Regions from separate parts of the Homo sapiens genome. Here regions 1, 3, 4 and 5 are each linked to region 2. The links are contacts of gene promoters, found by promoter capture Hi-C in blood cells and fetal thymus (Javierre and others, 2016). All regions are on one chromosome and are shown on one strand. Each heading gives the region's core, a stretch centred on a gene start or on the middle of the fragment in contact. The rest is flanking DNA. Distances are from core to core; before and after follow the strand shown. Region 1 has its middle 120 kb from the start of LINC02691. Region 2 holds the start of TMEM179 (transmembrane protein 179). Region 3 has its middle 31 kb from the start of LINC02691. Region 4 overlaps LINC02691 (long intergenic non-protein coding RNA 2691). Region 5 overlaps KIF26A (kinesin family member 26A).

Region 1 (4,333 bases), core at 81-2,580, 260 kb after region 2:
AGCCTGCAGGTGGCGCTGCAGGCGATCTCCATAAGCGCGGAGGGCAATTCACCGGCTCCGGACCTGAGTTCTCCATTTCGGCATTCCACGTTTGGAATTCCATACTTTGCCTCTGACCTTTATTTTCCTCTTCCTTTCTGACCTTCATGTGAATTAGACATTTTTTATTCCTGATTTTTCCTTCTGTACCGGGTTGGAGGTTGTGTGTACTATTCACATTGTCTCAGTAGTTGCTGTGGTCTGAATCCTTGCATCCCCCCAATATTCATATGTTGAAGCCTAACCCCCATGCAATAGTATCAAGAGGTGATGAGGCCTTTGGGAGGTGATTAGTGCCCTTGCAGAAGGGGCTGGAGGGAGCTTGTTTCCGGCTTCTGCGTTATGAGAACACAGGGAGAAGTCATCATCTGTGAGAAACCGGCGCACCAGTCACTGAATTTGCTGACACCTCCATCTTGGACTTCCCAGGCCCTAGAACTGTAAGCAATAAATATCTGCTGTTTATAAATTGCCTGGTCTGAGGTATTTTGATATAGTAGCCTGCATGCACTAAGGCAGTTGTTACTCATAATTTTAATAGGCTTTTTTACAAAGTCAAAAGTTAACCAAAGGGCCAGTCCAGTTTCAGTAAAGCAAAGAAATAAATGCATGAGGAAAGAAAAGAGAAAATGTGATCATGGTCTGCAGATAATATGATTGTTTAAGTAGAAGGGAAAAAAACTAATACTAATTAGAATGAAGATAGTTAGCAAGTTTGCTGGGCACAAAATCAATACCCCAATCCAACTGCATTTCAATACAATCACAATCTATACAAACCGATTTCTATACCAACCATGGTCTTAAAATATAAATTTTAAAATGTCATTTACCCTAGCAATTAAAAATATTGAATACCTAAGAATAAAACCAACAACAGATGTGCAAACACGTTATGGGAAAAATAATGAAAGCTTTATTCAAAGACATTAAAGAAGGTGTAAGTAAAAGGAGAGATGTATCATATATTTTATAAAGAAACATACTATGTACTTCATCACCATGTCAGTTTTCCCCAAATTGACCTAAAGATTTAACACACTTAAACAAAAATCACAAGAGGTTTTTTCATGTAAGAGCAAAGGACTAAGATTAGCCAAGATGCTCTTGAAGAAGAAAGCAAGCTGGGACCTATGCAACACAGCAGGACTTAGCACAGAGCTGAAGTCATTAAACTGTATGGTATGGGTGCAGATATGGACAAAAAGACCAACAGAAGATTACTGAGAACACAGAAAAATATATACTAATGGAAACTTGAAGTATAACTGACAGAATAAACAGTGCAGATCAGTGTAGAAAGGATGTTTTTTGATAAGATGCTGGGAAACTTGCTCTCCATACATTTTTTAAGTAGAGAAAATGAATCCCTACCTCACATCATACTCAGAAATAAATCCCAAATGATCAAAGATTTAAACATGAAAGGCATAACTAAAAAGACTGTTGAAGAGGGAAGGGCTTCTCAAGACACAAAAAGAGCAAAGCGTGAAGGGAAAGCTGTAACAAAAGGCAATTTTATTAAAATTAAGAAATTCAATTCAGCAAAAGAAACCATTTAAAAAGTGAAAACGAAGGCTGAGGACAGTGACTCACACCTATAATCCCAACACTTTGGGAGCCTGAGGTGGGAGGACTGCTTGAACCTGGGGATTCAAGACAAGCTTGGGCAACATAGCAAGACCCCTTCTCTACAAAAAGCAATAACAACAACAAAAAGTGAAAAGACAAGTCACAGGCTACGAGAAAGTATCTGCAACACATCTAACTGACCAACAGAATACAAAAAATATGAAGAGCTTTTACAAATCGATAAGAGAAGGCAAAAATCCCCGTGGGAAGAAATGGACAAAAAATTTGAACTAGCATTTCACAGAAGAGGAAATACACAGATTCATAAACATTTGGAAGTAAGTTCAACCTCTTCAGTAATCAAAGAAATGCCTTTGTTTGTTTGTTTGTTTTTGTTTTGGTTGAGATGGGGTCTATCTGTCATCCAGGCTGGAGTGCAGGGGCACAATCATAGCTCACCACAGCCTCAATCCCCCAGGCTCAAGCAATTGTCCTGCCCCAGCCTCCCAAGAAGCTGGGATTACAGACATGCACTGCCACTCACTGCTAATTTTCAAAAAGTTTTGTAGAGACAGGGTCTCACTATGCTGCCCAGGCTGGTCTTGAACTCTTGAGCTCAAGTGATCCTCCTGCCTTGGCCTCCCAAAGTGCTGGGATTACAAGCTTGAGCCACTGTGCCTACTCAGAAATGCCTTTTGAAAATCCTCTAGGGAATTCTGATTGTGATCATAGACTGAACATATGCATCTCACTTTCTCTCCACACTCCTACTAAAACTATAATGAGAGGTTTTTTAATGACATAAACTCTTAGGGATGAGAAGAACACAACAGGAAGAGGGGAAGTGTACTTTATGACAGACTAAATCATAAACAACTAACAGTAAACAGTAAAACACAACAAAATTTTGGAAGCTGGAAAGCAGATAGACAAGTGCTAACTGCCTTAGCAGACTTGAGAAAGACAACTCCTGAGCCAGCAAGGGAAAAACTGTGAATAAGTCTGATTTGCTCCCAAGAATATTTAAAATCTCAGGAACTGGCAGCAGCAGGTGTCTCTAGGACTGACGATGAAGGGGGAGTGGCAGAGCCAGGACTAGGATGAGGCTAACAAGATGCCAGAGCACAACACTTAAGGAGCAACATCCTTAGCCATTAGAGAAGTGCAAATTCAGACCATGATGAGATACCACTACATACCAGTTGAACACCTAAAATGAATAGTGATAATACCAAATGCTGGGGAGGATGTGGAGAAACTGGAGATCACTCATACATTGCTGGTGAGAATTTAAGGTAGTACAACCACCTGGAAAACAGTCTGGCAATTTCTTATGAAACCAAACGTACTCTTACCCTATGACCCAGCAATTACACTCTTGGTCGTTTACCCTAAAAAATAAAAATTTATATTCACATGCAAAATCTGTACACTGTTGTTCATAGCAGCTTTATTTGTAATAGCCAAAACCTAGAAACAACCAAAATTTCCTGTAATAGGTGCATGGTTGAACAAATTGCTGTACATCTATGCTATGGAGTATTAGCAATAAGAAGGAGCACTGTTGATGCATGCAGTAACTCAGATGGCTCTCAAGGGAATTGTGCTGGGAGGGGGGACAATCTCAAAAGGTCACATGCTTTACAACTTCATTTATACAACATTCTCAAAATGACAAAATTATAGAGATTGAAAAAAGATTAGTGGTTGCTAGTTTTCTCTAGAAAATAGGAGAAAAGTGAAAGGACTATCCAGTATGGTGGTGAGGGAAGATCCAGGCATACAGGGCAACCAGTCTAGATCAGAGCAGATTTTTCAGGACACCAGAATATTGAAGGTTGTCAGGGCTGATGAACCATCTTTTCACATCATTTACCCACAAAATGGTTCATGCCAAACAAGGGAGCAAACCAAGAAAGGAAGACATGAATGAGATCCAGGAAACAGGGACCCCCACCTGGGAGAAAAGCATCAGCAGAGGCAAGTCCCGGGACGAAGTGTGCAGCCAGCCCAGATGAGAGGAGAAAAAGATCTTCAGGCAGAGGGTTTACAGGAATATGTGATGTGGAAAAGTGCACAAAAAGGACATTTGAAGATGTGGGAAGAATTAGTAATAGGTTAGAAAAAAAAAAAGTAAGCAAATCAAAAAGCAAGGCAATGAATAACTTTAGGAAACACAGAAAGTAAAAAAGGAAACATAATTGGAGTATACTATAATGTTAGGCTGAGCTATGAATGTTATATAGACAATGTAAAGGTACAAACTTTACTTAAGCAAAAATTGTAGTATAACTATACTGGAAGAGAAGAAAGGAGAGCACAGGAGCTAGCAGAATGCAAGGGCTAAATTCTCATCACTGTAACAGGAAATTTTAAAAATTATATTCTAAATGAATTAATAAAAAGGCAGCAATATATACACAATATTTAGAAAAATGCAGATGTGTAAATGCCAGAACAAAAAAATTTTAAGTCAATCATGGTTAATTCTAGAGGTGACACTGGCAGGATCAGGGAAGAGAAGATCAGTGAACATACCATTTAGTACTGTGTGAGTTTTGTTGTTTCAGCTATATACATGCTCAATAATAGACAATTGGATTAGATAGGATTGGACTGGATTTAAATTGTATTTATCTATTAAGTCAAAATAAAATAATATGATATCATTTTACTACAACCAAATTTGCACAAATTAAGAAGCAGATCAATTCTAGGTACT
Region 2 (4,168 bases), core at 264-2,763:
GCCAGGATGGTCTCGATCTCCTGACCTCGTGATCCACCCGCCTCGCCCTCCCAAAGTGCTGAGATTACAGGCGTGAGCCACCGCGCCCGGCTGAACAACATTTTTAAAGCCGGTTTGGCAATTTCTGTCAACATTTTAAATGTGCATACCCCATGACCCAGCAATTCCTCTTCTAAGAATTTCTCTTATAAAAATGCCTGTGCAAGAACGCAAACATATGTGTACAAGAATGTTCACATGACAGCATTTGAGACAGCAAAAACTGGAGACACAAAACATCCACCTTAAGAGGAATAGTTATGCAGATTGTGGAATCATCATTATAATGGAGTCTTATGCAGTTATTAAAAAGAACAAAATAGGTGTATGTGTAGGCAGGGAATAATCTCCTTGACATTTTGTTGAATAAAAGAATCAGCCTTCAGAAAACTATGTATGGTATGAAGCATTTTTGTTAATTCTGTGTGTGTGCTTATGTGCTTAGCAAAATGTCTAGAAAAATAGATGCCAGGCTATTGAAGTGGTCACCCCTGGTAGTGTGATGGGGTAGGGGAGGGGGATGAGGAGAAGGCTTTCTATTTTATTGTATACATATCTCTATTACTTGACTTAAGAAATGAGCATATATTACTTAGTCAATAAAACAAAAATATTTTTTAATGCTTGCAACAAAAATGCTGATGGAATTTTAAACCAGGAGGAGCAATGTTAAGGCTTCCTCACTCTGGGAATTGGACTAAAGGTGACTTAGTCTTAAAGGCAACTAGAAAAGGCATTAATTCTATTAATTAATGCCTCAGCGATTTCCATCTCAGCAAAGATGTCTTAATGAGGCGCTCGGGACACCCATTATTTATCTTACAAATGCAGCTCCAGGGTCCTGCCCATGTCAGGCAGTGTAACACACGTCCCCGCGGAGGGCTGGCGCTGCAGAAGCTCCCGGTCCACCCCCTCCTGCCCACACCTGGCCTCACCCTCCCCATCTCTTCGAGGATGACCTCTGTCCCAGTCCCTTGGACCCCGACTCCTCCACGATCTGGCCCCTCCCCTCATACATTGCATTTCGGGACCCCCGCAAAGGAATCACTTCAGCCTGGACTGCAAACCGCACTCCTACACCTCACTATGAGCACCTTGGGGGTGTCCTCCAACACCCCCCGCCCCGCCCTCTCTCTCCTGGTCTCCTTTCGTTCGAGCTGATGAGGAACTGACGACCCAGAGTCGGCCTGTGTGAGGCCCGTACAGGTGGCTCCCGAAGTCTTTAGCGGCACAGGGTCGGTCCCTCCAGGCCGACCTGGTAAAATTCCCGCATCTCCCGCAGGCCGCCCTTCTCTGGCCCCTGGACCCCGGGCTCCTGGCCCGCGCGCACCAGGAGCTGTCCGCGGTGCTGACCGCAGGCGCTTCCCGCGCTCGGCCGATGCGCACGCGTCCCGGGAGGGGCGCGCGGGACCTGCCGGCGCCGCCACTGCGCAGCCTCCCGCGGCCTCCCCGCCCGGCGCAGCCTCCCGCGGCCTTCCCGCCGCCGCTCTCGCCCGGGCCGGCCATGGCGCTCAACAATTTCCTTTTCGCTCAGTGCGCCTGCTACTTCTTGGCCTTCCTGTTCAGCTTCGTGGTGGTGGTCCCGCTGTCCGAGAACGGCCACGACTTCCGCGGCCGCTGCCTGCTCTTCACCGAGGGCATGTGGCTGAGCGCCAACCTCACGGTGCAGGAGCGCGAGCGCTTCACGGTGCAGGAGTGGGGCCCGCCGGCCGCCTGCCGCTTCAGCCTGCTCGCCAGCCTCCTGTCTCTGCTGCTGGCCGCCGCGCACGCCTGGCGCACGCTCTTCTTCCTCTGCAAGGGACACGAGGGGTAAGTGGGGGCCGCTCCCGGCGCGGCGCCCCTTCCATGCCCCCAGCGCCCCCAGACCCACCTCCCCGGGGAGGCGCGCGAGTCCCTCCGTCTCTCAGGCAGCTCCGAGGCCCGCAAATGTCAACAATCCGCCCTCACCCCCTCCACTCAGACCGCCCTTTGTCTACACACACATCCAGGGACCATGACGACCACCGGTCCTGCGTACAAGGCCAGTGCCTCCCCTCCCCAGCTGCGCATCACCTCCCGCTTCCGGGCATCTGCTCCCTTGGGTTGCAGATGTTGCACTGTCATCACCCAGCAGGCCTGGACCTTCCTGGGCGGGCTCAGCCGGGCCACACTCGCCAGGACCGGCGACAACTCCCAGCCCGGTCTAGGGCTTGCACTGAGCTCTCCAGGTCCCAGTGACAAGGCGAACTGGGGAGCCCCACCCGGCACCATCGCCCCGGGAAAGGGACGGCAGATGGCTGTCTGGAGGGGAGCCACCCAGGCCCACCTCGAGCTCAGGCCTTGGATGGGGAGCTGGAGAGAGACTGCAGGGCGAGGGCTGTGCCTTGTGGGCTCAGCGCCTTCCTCCTCCTGGCCTGCATTTTCCTCTTTCTCTTTCCTGCTCCGGCTAGATACTGGAGCCCATACAACCTGGTTCACCTGGGGTGCGGTGACACCCTTAGCCAGTGGCACCCTGGGGGCCCTCTGGGGGCCCACCCACTCCCTCTGCAGGTGCTCTCTGTGAACCCTCCCACTCCCTCTGTGAGCCCACCCACTCCCTCTGTGAACCCACCCTCTCCCTCTGTGGGTGCCCTCTGTGAGCCCATCTACCACCTCTGTGAATCCACCCACCCCCTCTGTGAACCCACCCACCCCCTCTGTGAGCCCACCCACCCCCTCTGTGAGCCCACCCACTCCCTCTGTGAACCCACCCACTCCCTCTGTGGGTGCCCTCTGTGGGCCCTCCCACTCCCCTGGCTGAGGCCTGCTGTGCCCAGGAGCAGCCCGAGATCCTGTAGAGGTTCCGGGAGAGCACTCATGAAACCCAGGCTCCTCCCAAACTCTGCCCTCACCCCCATCCTTTGTTGTAGGTTTTCACTTCCTGCACGCAGGTGGGAGATGAGAAGGGCTCAGAGGGGTGTGGGCGGCAGGAGTGGGGAAGCCCTCCTGTTGCCCCCGCTGTGAGCCCACCGCTTGGTTTTGGCTGAGAGAGGGGCCAGAGAGGGGAAGAAGAGGGGCTTCAGGGAGAAGGGAGGGAGCCAGGGCTATGCTGAGTGGGGCTGCAAACTCTGGAGGAGGAATGAGAATCCCAGCGCCTGTGGGTAGGAGCGCCCTGGGGCTGCTGCAGCACAGTTGCACCAACTGGACTGAAACCCACTTGTCCCACCACCCTCTGCCGCTGTCCTCACAGGGCGCCTTTGCTCTGCTCTGTCCTCCCTCTTTTTACAGGGACACCAGTCACTGGATTCAGGGCCCACTCTAAACTCAGGGAGATATCCTGAGATCCAGAGCTTAATTACACCTGCAAAGATGCTATTTCCAAACAAAGTCACAGTCACGGGTACCAGGGGTGGGACTTGGGCATATCTTTCGGGGGACACCATTCAACCCACGACACTAAGGTTCTGGATGGGGGTCAGTAGAAAGCTGGCTGTCAGCCTGGGAGGACCCAGGTACTGTGGGGCCATGGGCCCAAATTGTGTGGCTGGAGCCCTGCTCAAGGTGGGGTCAGGCCGGGCGCAGGGTGGTGTCCTGCCCATTTGCAGCCGTCCTCCTTCCCTCAGCCCACTCCAGGGCTGGTGTCCCAAGAAGAGGCTTGAGACGTCATCTGCACCCATGTTGCCAAACCCAAGAGTTGCCCAGTCCATGCTGTGCATGCAGGGCAGGCAGGTGGAAGCCTCCCTGAATGAGACAGGTGTGAAGAGGGAGTGGGACAGCCAGCGAGTAGGGTCAGCCTCCCAACGCTTGAGGTCCCTTTAGTCTGGGAAGCTGAGGGTGGAGGGTGCAGGCCAGGTGGGGCCACAGTTGGTTCATCGCTCACGCACTTCTTCACCTCCTGGGTGTCCCTCAGGGTGCCTGTGGTCCAGCTGGGGCTGACAGAGGGTGGCTCTCTAGATAGGACCCAGCTATGTGGTCAGAGTGATGGGAGATTTTATAGGGGGTTCCACCAGAAGCTGGGGGACAGGGAGAGGGGAGAAAAGAGCCCCAGAGCTTGCAAGACAGGAGTCCAGGTCGCACAGGGTATGGTCTATTTCGCACACACTGGGCGGCAGGCCCAGGGATGCCGTAACAGCAGCTCTGCCTCTTGCCATCTCACGGAAGGTGACTGTCT
Region 3 (4,223 bases), core at 504-3,003, 410 kb after region 2:
TGGCCCCATCCTCAGCCTGGCATGCTGGGCCCTGCCTGGCCGCCCCCACAGCTCAGCCAACAGTAGAGCTCAGCCCTGGCCTCACCGAACACAGACATCCCCTGAAACAGACACCTGCCAGAAGGACCCTCACCCCTGCATCTCTGGTTCTCTCTGCCCTTCCAGGTTCCCCTAAGCACCTCCTCTTCCGGGAAGTCTTCCCTAACCACCCCTGGCCCAGATGGAAGCACTTCCCTTCCTCTGAGTCCCCCGCACTTTCTCTGCCTCTCTACTGGCCTAATCGTCTGCTAGACCATCAGTCACCTGCTGGACCGTAGGTGACACCCTGGACCGTAGAAGCTCTTAAGAGTCTTAAGAGCTTCAGTCTACACCTGACTTCCCTCCCTCAACACAGCCCTGACACAGCACGAGCTGAGAGCTTAGGTCTAGGGAACTAAAGAAGAACTAGAAAAGTCTGGCTTCACTGAGCCCACCATGTGCTGGGCACCGGGGATCATCACGCACACCACCCACTTCACCCTCCAGGACGAGGGACAGCTCTCCCCATTGTCCAGAAGAGGAAATCGCTGCCCAGCAAGGACAGAGCTGAAGGCCCAGCCTAGCCTCGCTGCTCCGGAGCCCTGGATGGGCAGGTGCCCTGCCGTCCGGAACCCACGGCACCCAGCCAGGACCATGGAGAGACAGGCACCTGCTCCAGGATGGCACATCCACACTCCTGAGCTGAGGAGATTGTGGAGCCAAGACTGTCTCTGCAGAAGCCGTTCATCCACCCCCTCCCCTCTGCCCAGCCCTGACCCCTCATGGCTCAGGGTGCGCGGGCCACCTCGGCCAGAGGCCTTCCCAGCGCTGAACTGTGCAAATATTTGTTTCTTTAAGAGAAAAGAAGACCCTCTGGTACTTCCAAGGGAGCATAAATGGGGCCCCAGGAAACCCCACCAGGATATGGGGCTGGCTGATGCCTGGAAGCAGCTCAAAGCAAACCAGGTAATTACCAAAAAACCAGGTAAAAACCAAAAACAGACCAACCAGAGCAGGACCTGACTTCATGGTGAACAAATGTTCTTTGTGTTTTTAAGTGAATGCTGCATTTTAAGCCAATCCCTTCCCACCTGCCCCCGCCACTGCCATGCTCCCCCTGTGCCCAGGTCACCTGGACAGAGGCTCTTCCTGGACCAGCCCTGAGAGCTTGAGGGTCCCGACCCTGCCATGGCACTGGGGCTGGGTGGAGGCACTGAGGGTGAGGAGGGAACCCAAGTTGATGCCCCGGTTCCGGAAGAGGATGAAACAGGGCCCCCAGGAGGGGTGCACAGGGGAGAACAAGTCTGAGAGATCTGGGGGCCGGAGGGACATGGGGCAGATACCAGAGAAACGATGGAACTGCAGATGTGGGGCACAGGGATGGGGTCTGGGGGCCAAGGTGGCCCAGGGGGACGTGAAGCCCCAGGGCAGGGGCAGGTGGCCCAGGGAGAGTGCAGGGAGGAGGACAGGGCTGAGGGCCACAAAGGGACAGATGAAAGACACATCCACAGGGTGGGGGGGAGTGGCCGGGGTGGGGGCCGAGAAGTGGGCACAGATGCCAAGAGAAGGGCACCAGGGCTCTGCCTTTGAAGGCTGTGAGATCTCGCCCAGCAGAGGCCTCGGTGGTTGGGGAGGAGAGGGCTGAGCAGCCTTGCGAGAGGAGACCACCCCAGCCTTGATTTCCCCAGGGGTGCACTGGGGTAGGTCCCTGGGAGTGGGCTGGGGTCTCCCACAAGGCCTCCCTGGGGGCTGGGAGCTCATTTGCGAGTCTGCTCAACCTGCCCCGGCTCTATGTTCACACCCCATGTATTGCCACCCGACGCCACGATGCCTGTGCCTGGTGCGCTGCTGCTAGAAGCTCTCAAGTGCGGCGGAGCCCCCTCCTCACCCAACTCACAGCAAAGGGAGCAGGAGAGAGAGCAGGCCAACCAGCCACAGGCAGGGGGCATCCCCACCCCTGCCTCAGCTCTGGGTGAGGCCCTTGGGAGACAGAAGCAGGACAGCCCCCAAGAGCTGGGCAGAAAGACGAGGGCAGAGGGCCCCGGGTAGCTGAGCCTGAGATTGGGGAGCTGCCTGGAGCAGGGAGCCAGGTACACACAGGGGCAGGGCTGTCCCCAGACCAAGACCTGCCCACAGGCCTCAGCAGGCACATCCCATGTGCCAGCCCGCCCAACGCCCAGCCCCTTCCTTTTCCCCTGCCTCCAGCTCATTCCTTGCCCCCAGAAGCCAGAGCCTGTCCCACTGACCCCACCATCCCATCTGAACCACCACCCAGCTGCTCCAGCTGGCCAGGCTGTGGGTGCTGAGCTGTTCTGAAGAGTGAGGGCACCAGGCTCCCGGAGGAGCCCTCAAGGCCAACCAGTCTCAGGAGCAGGGGCAGAGTCCATGCCGAGTGCGAGGAGACCCCTCTGCCCCTCTGCAGTGCCCCTCCGGCTCCACCAGGCTCACCCCAGGGGCAGACGCAACCCAGTGTGGCCCCAGGGTGGGTCTGGCCCTCCTTGTGGCCGCCCGTCCTCCTGCCCAGACCCAGGGCTCTGCTGCGAGGCGAGGCAGGGAGAGGCCTGGCTCTCCTTCCTCCCGTCAGCCTTGCACAGGCCGGCCTGCCCTGGACCTGGCCTTCCTGGTCTGTAACACGGGGTGACACGGATACCTGCCCACGCCTGGACATGGAGGGGCCCCGATAAATCCCCGTGGCAATGGCAGCAAATAGTCACTGCCCTAGAGAGGACCAGGCAGCAGCTCCTGGTGCCCCCACCCTGTGCCGCTGGCTCCGGGCACTTCACAGGCCTTTTTCTATTTCCCAGGCTCCATGTTGAGTCCACACAGCTGGTGGGAGCAGAGCCTGGCCGTGGACCCGACGGGAGGCTGCACTGTGCACACATCATCCTACCCCTGTCCGTGCCATCCCCATTGGAGCCAAATCCATTGGCGTTCCTTATGTGCCAGGCACCACTAAGCTGCATACTCCGGGTCAAATCATCTAACTGAGCCCCAGTGAGGTAGGGGTGAATACGGATCTCCAGTTTCAGAGGAGCACAGAGAGGTTCAGTAGCACACCTGGGGTCACACAGCAGGCAGAATTTGCACTCAGATAGCCCAGCTGGTCTGGGCACTGAGGCCAGTCACTGCCCGACACTCCGTGTCTCTGTGACACTAGGTGAGCCCCACCCAGGAACGGGAGGCAGGAACTGGCAGGCCCTGGGCCGTGTGGTCCGTGCAGGTGGGTTCCCAGGCAGAGCCGCCTCTCCCTGCGGTGCTGCTCTGTGATGGACCCGTCAGACCCAGGAGGTCAGCCCCGATGGCCGCCTCAATCCGCAATTGCCGTTCAGCTGACAGCAGCGTGGATTTACGAGCAGCCCTCTGCCTCCCCACGGTGGCCGAGCCACCATGCCCACCCCAACCTGGGACCAGTCCTCAGACCTCCTAGGGTCTTGGCCCACACGTCCTCTGTTCCCCTGAATGCAGGTGCAAGGGGAGGCCCCTGCCTGCATTCCCCACCTCTGCCTCTCACCCACCAAAACTTCTTGCCCCAAAGCCTCTGCTCTCCCCATTCAGGGACCCACCCACCTCCACTGTGCAGGGAGCCCTAAGCCTCCAAGTTCCCATTTCCATAATGGGGAAACTGAGGCCCAGGGGGCTGAGGTCACAGGTCGGAGCTGGCTCCTGCAAGGCCAGGCTGTGGCTCTCGCCAGACCTTTCCAACCTCCACCCTTTAAAGTGCAAAAATCAAAGGTCAGTGTCATTTCACCAGTGCGAGGCCAAGGGGCTTTCCTAGGTCACAGGGCAGTTTTTGATGCTGAGTCTGGGAGTACAGCCCACCTCTGCAGCCTGGCTCATGGCGGGGAGCAGGGAGGAGGCACGGGATGGAGGCAACTGGGGTTCAGGACAGTGAGCTGCAGGCCCGACCAGCCCCACCCTCTGCCCCCAGGGCAGGAATCAGGAATGGAGACAGCTAGCGTGGACCCCCGGCCTCCCCAGCACTCCCACCTCAGCCTCTGTGCCTGCCTTTCCCGCTCCCAGAGTCCCCTCTTCAGAACCAGCCACATAATTTTGGGTGGGGCCCACAGCGTAACAGAAACCCTGGGCACCTTATCCAAGAGTCGTTATGAACTTCAAGGTGGCGACGACTGGGCATAACAGTGTGGGTCCTTCTGAGTGTGGCCCCATTACTGCCAGGTCTCAGCCCTGCCCCTGCCTTCCATCCT
Region 4 (3,823 bases), core at 196-2,695, 370 kb after region 2:
AGCCATTCAACAAGTCTCTAGGAAGTTCTAAACTTTCCCACATCTTCCTGTCTTCTTCTGAGACCTCCAAACTGTTCCAACCTCTGCCTGTTACCCAGTTCTGCCTGTTACCACATTTTTGGATATCTTTATAGCAGCACCCCACTCTTGCTACAAATTTATTGTATTAGTCCATTCTCATACTGCTATAAAGAACTGCCCAAGACTGGGTAACTTATAAAAGAAAGAGGTTTAATGGACTCACAGTTCTGCAGGGCTGGGGAGCCCTCAGGAAACTTATAATTATGGCAAAAGGCACCTCTTCATAGGGCAGCAGGAGAGATAATGAGAGCCAAGAAAAGGGGGGAAGACCCTTATAAAATCATCACCCCTATGATTCAATTACCTCCCGTGTGGGGATTATGGGAACTACAATTCAAGATGAGACTTGGGTGGGGACACAGCCAAACCATATCAGCAAGTCAGGGTCAGGATGGAACTAAAACCCAGTTCTGCCCAAGCCAAAGCCTCTAATGGTTCATAAGATGATACCCCAGAAGAGATGTTCCCTAGCTGTGCCCAGGTCAGGATGATGCTCTCTCCAGCACCAGCCTGAGCTTGAACAAAGGCATCTTCTTTGTGTAGAAAGCAGCCAAATATGTCATCCTAAGCTGGAGCCCCTCCTCCTACTCCTGGGGAGCAGCAGTAGAGTAAGCCCCATACCACCTGCACAAGCACCCCCTCCCCATCAGCAGACCCCACATCAGTCACCACAGCTTCACAGCCTTGACCCTCAAGCTTTCCCCATGCTGCCTGCCTACCCAGCCTGGTGTCCTGGTAGTGGGAAGACCTACCACTGGACTCCACAGACAAATGCCAGTGCATGGATCCCAGGGGGTTGAGCCACTTGATCCCTGGATCCCATGGATCTGGCATACTCAGCAGCCAGATTAGCAGCCTCCCTTGCAGGCCGGACTTGGGGGATAAATAGAGGCAAGGATGGAATTAGCATCTTCAGATCTCTCTGGGATGGGAACAAAACCACAATCTCTGCCAAGTTGATGATAATGAAGAGATGATGACAATGACAGGGATGATAATAATGATGACAATGACCATGATGATGATGGTGATGATGGTGATGTGATGGTAATGATGTGATGGTGATAACGATGATGATGACAGTGATAGTGATTATAATGATGGTGATATGATAGTGATGGTGATGATGGTGATGATAATGATGGCAATGATGATGGTGATGATGATGGCAATGATGGTGATGATGATGTGATAGTAATGCTGATGACAGTGATGGTATAGCTATAATGATGATGATGTGATGGTGATGATAATGGTGATGAAGATGATGGTAATGATGGTGGTGATATGCTCATGGTGGTGTGTAATGGTAAGGATGGTGGTGGTGACGATGATGCAATAGTGATGATGATGGTGATGGTGGTGATGATGGTAATGGTGATGATGGTGGTGAGAGTGATGTGATGGTGATAATATTGATTATGATGATGATGGTGATGATGGTGATGGTAATGATGGTGGTGATGATGGAGTGTAATGGTGATGGTGATGATGATGGTGGTGGTGATGACGGAGTGTAATGGTGATGGTGATGATGACGGTGACGGTGATGATGGTGATGATGATGATGGGGTGATGGTCATGGTGATGATGATGGTGTTGATGATGTTGATGGAGTGTAATGGTGATGGTGATGATGGTGGTGGTGATGGTGATGGTGGTGATGTTGATGATGGAGTGTAATGGCGATGGTGATGATGGTGGTGATGTTGATGGAGTGTTATGGTGATGGTAATGATGATGGTAATGATGGTGATGATGTGACAGTGATGATCATGATGGTAATGATGATGGTGGTGAGGGTGTTGTGATGGTGATATGATGATTATGGTGATGGTGACAATGACAATGATGACAGCCATCTTCTGTTAACCACCAACTACATGTTAGGTACTCCCCATGCATAGACTCATTTGATTCTCACAACCATTTAGAAAGATGAATGGCATGTCCTCCCTCCATGGAGGAGCAAACTCAGACTCCTCAACTTTAAATGTTCACTAAAGTGGACACAGAGCTAGAGTCAAGCTTTAGGCTCAGGCCAGGCCCCACCACCAAGTGCTGGTGCAGGGCTGGACTGTATGAGCCCTTGTCATTGTTCTCTGAATTATCTCAGCAAGCCTGCTGTGGTTGTCATTTTACAGATGAGGAAAGTGGGTCCCAGATGGGGTAAATGACTCAACAAAAGTCAAAGCTCCATCAGCAAGTGGCAGGTCTGAGGGGCAGCATCACGTCCCAGAGTGCTGGAGGGGCAGGCAGAGGCCTGGCCTCTTGGCAACTATGAGCCTCCATGCCTTCATCTCATCTGTCATTATAGCAGTAAGGGTCATCCTGACCACCTTAGAGGTGCCCGAGGAGATGCACAGAATGTCAGGCACCCACCAGGTGCTTGGCAAACCCCGCAGGGTCTAGCCAATCCCAGAACCAGGCTCCAGCTCCCAGTCCTGTGCTCCTCTCCTTTGCTGCCCTTGCCCCTCTGGCCAGACCTCCAGGACCATCAGTGGACTCAGGTCGTGGCCTGGGAAGCTGCAGACCTGAGCGAGGAGAAACATGGTGAGGAGCAGCTAGAGGCTGAGCCTCCTCCAACATCCCCACCAGGACAGCCTTGTAAGCAATGAAATGGTTAAGGCCTCCCAGCCCAGCAGAATTGGCTCATTATCATTTCTAATATGGATCAATACTCTTCAGGCATCTGACAAAGCCGGCAGCTCTCTGTTCCCTTCCTGCCCTCCAAACATAAAAGATCCCCTAAGCCACACTGGCCCGGGGCTCTGGCCCTAGCCCCCTCCTCAGGCCTCATCTCCATAGTGGTCTTAATCAAGTCGTGGGGAAAGATGCAAGTCAATAAGTCCTCATTGATCACCTCCTCTCCCCTCCACCCCACTGACATTCTGTCAGCCCCTCCCCCACAGCCAGCCGGGCTAATGGGGGTCCTTGCCTCCCACGTAGGTAGTGGGTGGGGGGTGCTCGTGAAAGCCCTGATTGCTCTGAGGCCCAGGGCCTCCGTCGCAGCGAGGGCTCCAACACAACATATGCCTCCTGCCCGACGGCTTTGTCTTCAACAATAAAACAGGGTTTCTCTCCCGCCTCAGCCCTGGGTCCAATTTATCAGGCCTGGCACTGATCATCTGCTTCCCTGTCACCAGCCGGACTTGGGGGATAAATATAGGCAAGCAGATACAGAATTACCGTGACCAGATCTCTCTGGGTCGGGAACAAAAACCACTTTACACTCCTTATGAAGCATTTCCACCATCACAGACATGAAGGCAAAGGGGCGGGACCCCAGCAACCAACGGGAGCTCATCCTTCCCCTTGTAAGAGCCAGAGGAAGCTGCCACATGGAGCTCCCAGGCTGTGTTCCTTTGGGAAGTCACCTGCAGTGACTGAGCCTCAGTTTCCCATCAGGGACACCTACCTTGCAGGGCTGCGACAAGCACTCACGGAGAGAATAAAACAAAGGATCTTCCACTGAGCTTAGCAGACAGTGGGTGCTCCGTGAACGGCAGTTAGCGCTGCTGCCTTTAACGGTGCGACTGTCCACAGCCAGGTATGGCATTCGGGATGTGTCACGTCCACGCCCCACGGAAATGTCAGTGACAGTTCGCACCCTTGTTCGTCCTCAGCCATCACTCCTAGAGCTGCCATCTGCAGACAGTGACCAGCTCAGGGTGGCACCACAGGCCCGCCCTGCCCTTTTGAGGCTCTGCAGGGCTGCCGCAGGAGCTCCAGGTAGATTGAT
Region 5 (4,196 bases), core at 560-3,059, 440 kb after region 2:
ACGCGGAGGCCGGGCAAGCACTGGAGACTGGAGCAGCACTTGGAGAGGCCAGAGGGAGATTGAGGCTGGAGCCTTAGGTCTGCAGAGGCCAAAACCAGGCTGGCCCTTTGCCCCGTCGGCCACACAAGGGCTCTGCCCCTCCAGTGACCCTCCCAGGAGCAGCGTCCGCAGCACAGATCTCAGGTATGCCTGGGCCACAGCGGGCACACCCAGGGCCCAGGCCGCCTAGACAGAGGCTGGGACCGGGCGTCCTCTGTGGTTCCATCAGCCCTGGAAGTCTGGAAGGTTGTTCGCCCCACATCTCCACCCCACAATCTGACCTAACTTGAGGCGCCTCCTCCTCCTGGGGCCCATCGCCAACAGGCTGCACCCCAGCCTGCTGGGCCCTCCCGGTGCCTGCTTTTACGGGCTTACCTCACTGGTATGACTCAAAGACCTGCCACTGCATTAACGAGGCCCCAGAACGAGCACTTTCTCCTTTGATGAAATTCAGGCCCCCATGGAAACGACCATCAGACACAGCAGCCCCCATCTGGCTACCACGCTTGGGTTCAACAGCCCTTGAGGGCCCACGGCCCTGTGGAGGCAGGAACTTACTTTCTGAGCAGTGGGGTTTGTCTCCCCCAGGCCACAGCAGACACTGCCCACACCCAACACTGCCAGGGAGCGGCGGCCCTCAGTGGGCAAGTCTGAGGGGTTTGACTCTGAAGGGAAGACTCAGAAAAGCAGGAACTTCACCTGCATAAACAGCCCCCATCCTCACAGGACACCTCCTCCAGGAAGCCTGCCCTGATGCCCTGAGATGGGTGTCCCCAGCCCCTGCGCCTCCTGCTTCTATAGCAACTACCCCCTGCCGTGAGACACCAGTTTACACAGCTATGTCCCTGCCAGCAGGGGGTCTGGGGGCAGATGCTCACAGAAGAAGCTCAGAACACGCGTGAGCGAGGATGAACGAGACAGCGGGCACCTGAACGGCCCCCAGAGCCACCAGGTGTCTTGCTGCAATCCCACAGCCTTGCCTGGGCTCATTGGCCCTGGCCATCGATTCATGTCAACAGAAAAGGAAATATTTTCCTTTTTACAGAGAAAAATCACCGCTTCCAAACAAGAGGGTAATTTCACAGGCAGTTGGCCTTGATGGTGAGGCCCTTAATTACCCCAAGGAGACACACGAGCCTGTTCTGTCGCGTGCAGGAATCACTTATGGCCAACCCAGAGCTTCCACACTGGGCCGTGCGAGGCTGGTGGACGGAGCCCCACCCTCCCTACCCCCACCTCACCCCAGGGGCACCTGCCACCTGCCGGACCTGCCCCACCAAGGAACCAGGGCAGGCATCGGGGGACCCCAGCTGGGTCCTGCAGACCTGCGAAGGGGACCCTGGACCCCAGCTGGAGGCAGCTGGAGACTGAGGCATCAGCCCCTCCAACTCCCAGCCCTGCTGTGGTCCACACTTCCTGTGTCCTGGATTTTCACCCACAGGCCAGAAGACAGGTGGGGACACCTCTCCAGACAGTGCCTTCCATGTGGGTCCCCAGCTAAGCCTCGGGCAGCGCACTCTCCCCGCAGGCGCTGCACTTCTGCTGGGTGCCAGCCTGACCGTCCATGGGCCTGGGCATCCAGGCTGACACGGGGGCTCTGCTGAGGCCACAGTGGGGTGGGGAGTGGGGGGCCTGGGTACCTGCAAGTGCCATGAGGTGCTCCCCACCCAATGGAAGCAACCTCCCTTAGCAGTTTTCTCAAAGACATTTGATTTGGGGTCTTGGAGGGGACCCCCATACCAGCATGGCAGCGAGCAGGTGAGAGTATGATGACGGAAGTACCTCAGAGGAGGCACTGCAGAGGCTCCCAGCGCCGGCACAAACCAGCGGGGCCTCAGACAGCGTCATCAGAGTTGCCAGAACCTTCAGGGAACTCCTAACCCTGGGGGTCACCAGAGCCTTCGGAGAACTCCTAACCCCGGGGCCACCCGGCCCACGCGCCCCACCCTCCCGAACACTTGCTGGGCCAGCATGCCAAGCTCTGTCACAGCTGCGCTGCCTCAATCCCTGCAGCTTCCCCAGGCCCCACCCAGGGGGTGAGGGCATGGGGCTCAGCCCCTGCTCTATCTATGCCCCTGTTAGCATTAACGAAACTCGGGTACCCGGGCACCCATGGGATCACTCCACATCCCAGCTTCCCTGTGTGGACATAAGGAGCCCAGAGGCCACTGAAAGGATCAGGGGGCAGCCTGAGGCTGGTGCCCTAATCCGGCTGGGGGGTGCTTGTGGGCAGCAGCAGAGCTGAGACTCCCCAGGCCCACGGGATTCAAAAACTCAAACTCCTGACCTCCACCCCATTCCGTCTCCACTTGGCAATGCTGCCTGCCAGACTCCTACTCAACCCTCAAAGCCCGCTCCCTGAGAGGCCACTCTGCCCTGACTGCTACACGGGTCCCGTGCTGCCATCTAAGGCTGCCTCCACAGAGGTGCCCCTCGGTCCCTCCAGACTGGAAACTTCCCAAGGGCAGAGCAGGGGCTGGGGTCAGTGCCACTCCCTCCCAGGTCCTCTTCGAGGGTGGAGGTGGGAGCACAGAAGGTACCCTCAGCACGTGCCCAAGACCCCTGGGGCGGGGGCTGAAGCTCCACTGTCTCCTGGTGGACTCGTCCCCACTCAGAGCCACAGCCCCACACCCACAAAACCCAGGAGTGGACACCCCCTCTGATCTCACCCCTGAGGGTTCAGGGTACTGCAGCCCCACAGAGGAGGTCACCCACCACCGACCCCAGCCCACGTCAGGCATCCACCGACAGGGCCCACCTGCCAGGATGTCCCCCGCCACAACCTGAACCACGACCTGCCACCTGCAGTGGCCTCGCAGAAGCCGCTGAGACCCAGGGTGCCTAACAGGCTGGAAGTAATGGCAGCCGGCAGCGCCCCCGCCTTGGGAGAACCGCCTCTGGGTCCCCAGCCCGATGCGCTGGTTTCTATGGTAACTTCCCAAGGTCAGCAGGCAGCGCGGCTGGCAAGCGGCACCGGCCTCGGCTCCCAAACAAAAGGCAGCCAGGGCCGCTCTGCTGGGCTCCAGGTCACCAACGCACCGGCCTGGGGGCCGACACCCTACCCTTACTTCCCAGTGTCAGGAACCCTCCTTGGCACCAGGGGGCTTAGCATCAGGGACCGGGGGAGCTCTGAGCACTGGAGCTATTCTTTCTTTTCTGGAAGTCTCCACGTTTCAAATCCTCCTGCCAAACAGGACCCAAAGGAGCACGGCCACAGGGCTGTGCCCAGAACAGCCGCACAGGCCCTTTAATTCAGGACTAGGCCGGTTGTGACGGGGTGGGCTGTCCCACACACGGGGGACCCCAGAGCAGGATGGGCAAGACCCCCATCTGCTCCCACCAGGGTCCCAGCCAGCCGTGCTCTCGGCACCTAATTGGGGTGGCGCTGAGGCCACACTGGTCACGTGCGCGGTCTGGCTGTGCTCCAACGCGATGGTGTGCTCATCAGCCCTCAGCCCGGCACACGGCGTGCGACAATGCCCTAATCATATGCCCCGTCACTCTGCAATCAGACCACACGGTCCCCAGGGCCGGCGCTGATAAGACGCCCTCGTCTCTGGCCGCTGGGTGTGATGCATGTTCAAGCTTATCAGCACCCGCGTGGGGCTGCTAATGGGACACTGACCCGCGGCTGGGCCTGCCATTACCAGGCATTATGGCAATTACATCCTGTAATCCGCATCCTTACACCATCAGGATGAGAGGAGGCTCTGCCACGGGTCCCAGGACCAAAGGCCCTGCCGGGAAGGGCCCAGTGGAGGCTCCCACACCACGCCCCTCCATGCCAACTCCCCCTCCCCACCTCTGCTCTCCTGTTCCCTCTGCCTGGCCCACCCCATCCACACCACCAGTCGGCAAGGACCTGGTGCCTGCAGGGCCTCAGGCCTGGCATTCTGGCAGTGGTGGGGATCAGCAGGGGGGAGAGCAGAGAAACCAGGCACCCCGAGCTCGGGGCCTGGGAAAGCAACCAAGTGATGTCAGACATGGTCCCCCAATGTGGGATGCTCCTGGTGGAGCTGGACCTGCCAACCACAAGCCCGGCTGGCACCGTGGGCACCCGCTCAAGCCCTGCTGCCCCTCCCCTTGTGCTGCCTGAAGGCCAGCCTTGTCCTCTCCGTGGCCCCAGCCTGCGCCTCCCCCGGGCAGCCCCCAATGTC

The links. Contacts are between HindIII fragments. The CHiCAGO score rates a contact against its expected background, and 5 or more counts as called.
Region 1: a fragment that was not itself captured here is called in contact with the fragment with the promoter of TMEM179 in region 2 in 1 of 17 cell types (endothelial precursors); the score reaches 5.4 in endothelial precursors.
Region 3: a contact is called between a fragment that was not itself captured here and the fragment with the promoter of TMEM179 in region 2, in 2 of 17 cell types (naive CD4 T cells and M0 macrophages). The highest score is 6.0, in naive CD4 T cells.
Region 4: a contact is called between a fragment that was not itself captured here and the fragment with the promoter of TMEM179 in region 2, in 1 of 17 cell types (endothelial precursors). The highest score is 5.2, in endothelial precursors.
Region 5: a fragment that was not itself captured here is called in contact with the fragment with the promoter of TMEM179 in region 2 in 3 of 17 cell types (M0 macrophages, total CD8 T cells and megakaryocytes); the score reaches 6.8 in M0 macrophages.

What each region holds. Positions count from the first base shown.
Region 1 is chr14:104,337,819-104,342,151 of GRCh38, reverse strand. No RefSeq gene overlaps it. Among named protein-coding and RNA genes, the nearest start is that of LINC02691, 120 kb to the right of the region's middle. The HindIII fragment of the contact is 750 bases long and covers 956-1,705 here.
Region 2 is chr14:104,602,117-104,606,284 of GRCh38, reverse strand. TMEM179 (transmembrane protein 179) reads left to right here and starts at 1,513. Exons shown (of 4, transcript NM_001286389.2): 1 at 1,513-1,848. The coding sequence starts at 1,544. The HindIII fragment of the contact is 15,381 bases long and covers 1-4,168 here.
Region 3 is chr14:104,190,660-104,194,882 of GRCh38, reverse strand. No RefSeq gene overlaps it. Among named protein-coding and RNA genes, the nearest start is that of LINC02691, 31 kb to the left of the region's middle. The HindIII fragment of the contact is 5,448 bases long and covers 1-4,223 here.
Region 4 is chr14:104,229,888-104,233,710 of GRCh38, reverse strand. All of the region lies in intron 1 of LINC02691 (long intergenic non-protein coding RNA 2691), which reads right to left. Among named protein-coding and RNA genes, the nearest start is that of LINC02691, 8.2 kb to the right of the region's middle. The HindIII fragment of the contact is 1,332 bases long and covers 780-2,111 here.
Region 5 is chr14:104,158,385-104,162,580 of GRCh38, reverse strand. All of the region lies in intron 4 of KIF26A (kinesin family member 26A), which reads right to left. Among named protein-coding and RNA genes, the nearest start is that of KIF26A-DT, 22 kb to the right of the region's middle. The HindIII fragment of the contact is 3,634 bases long and covers 1-3,626 here.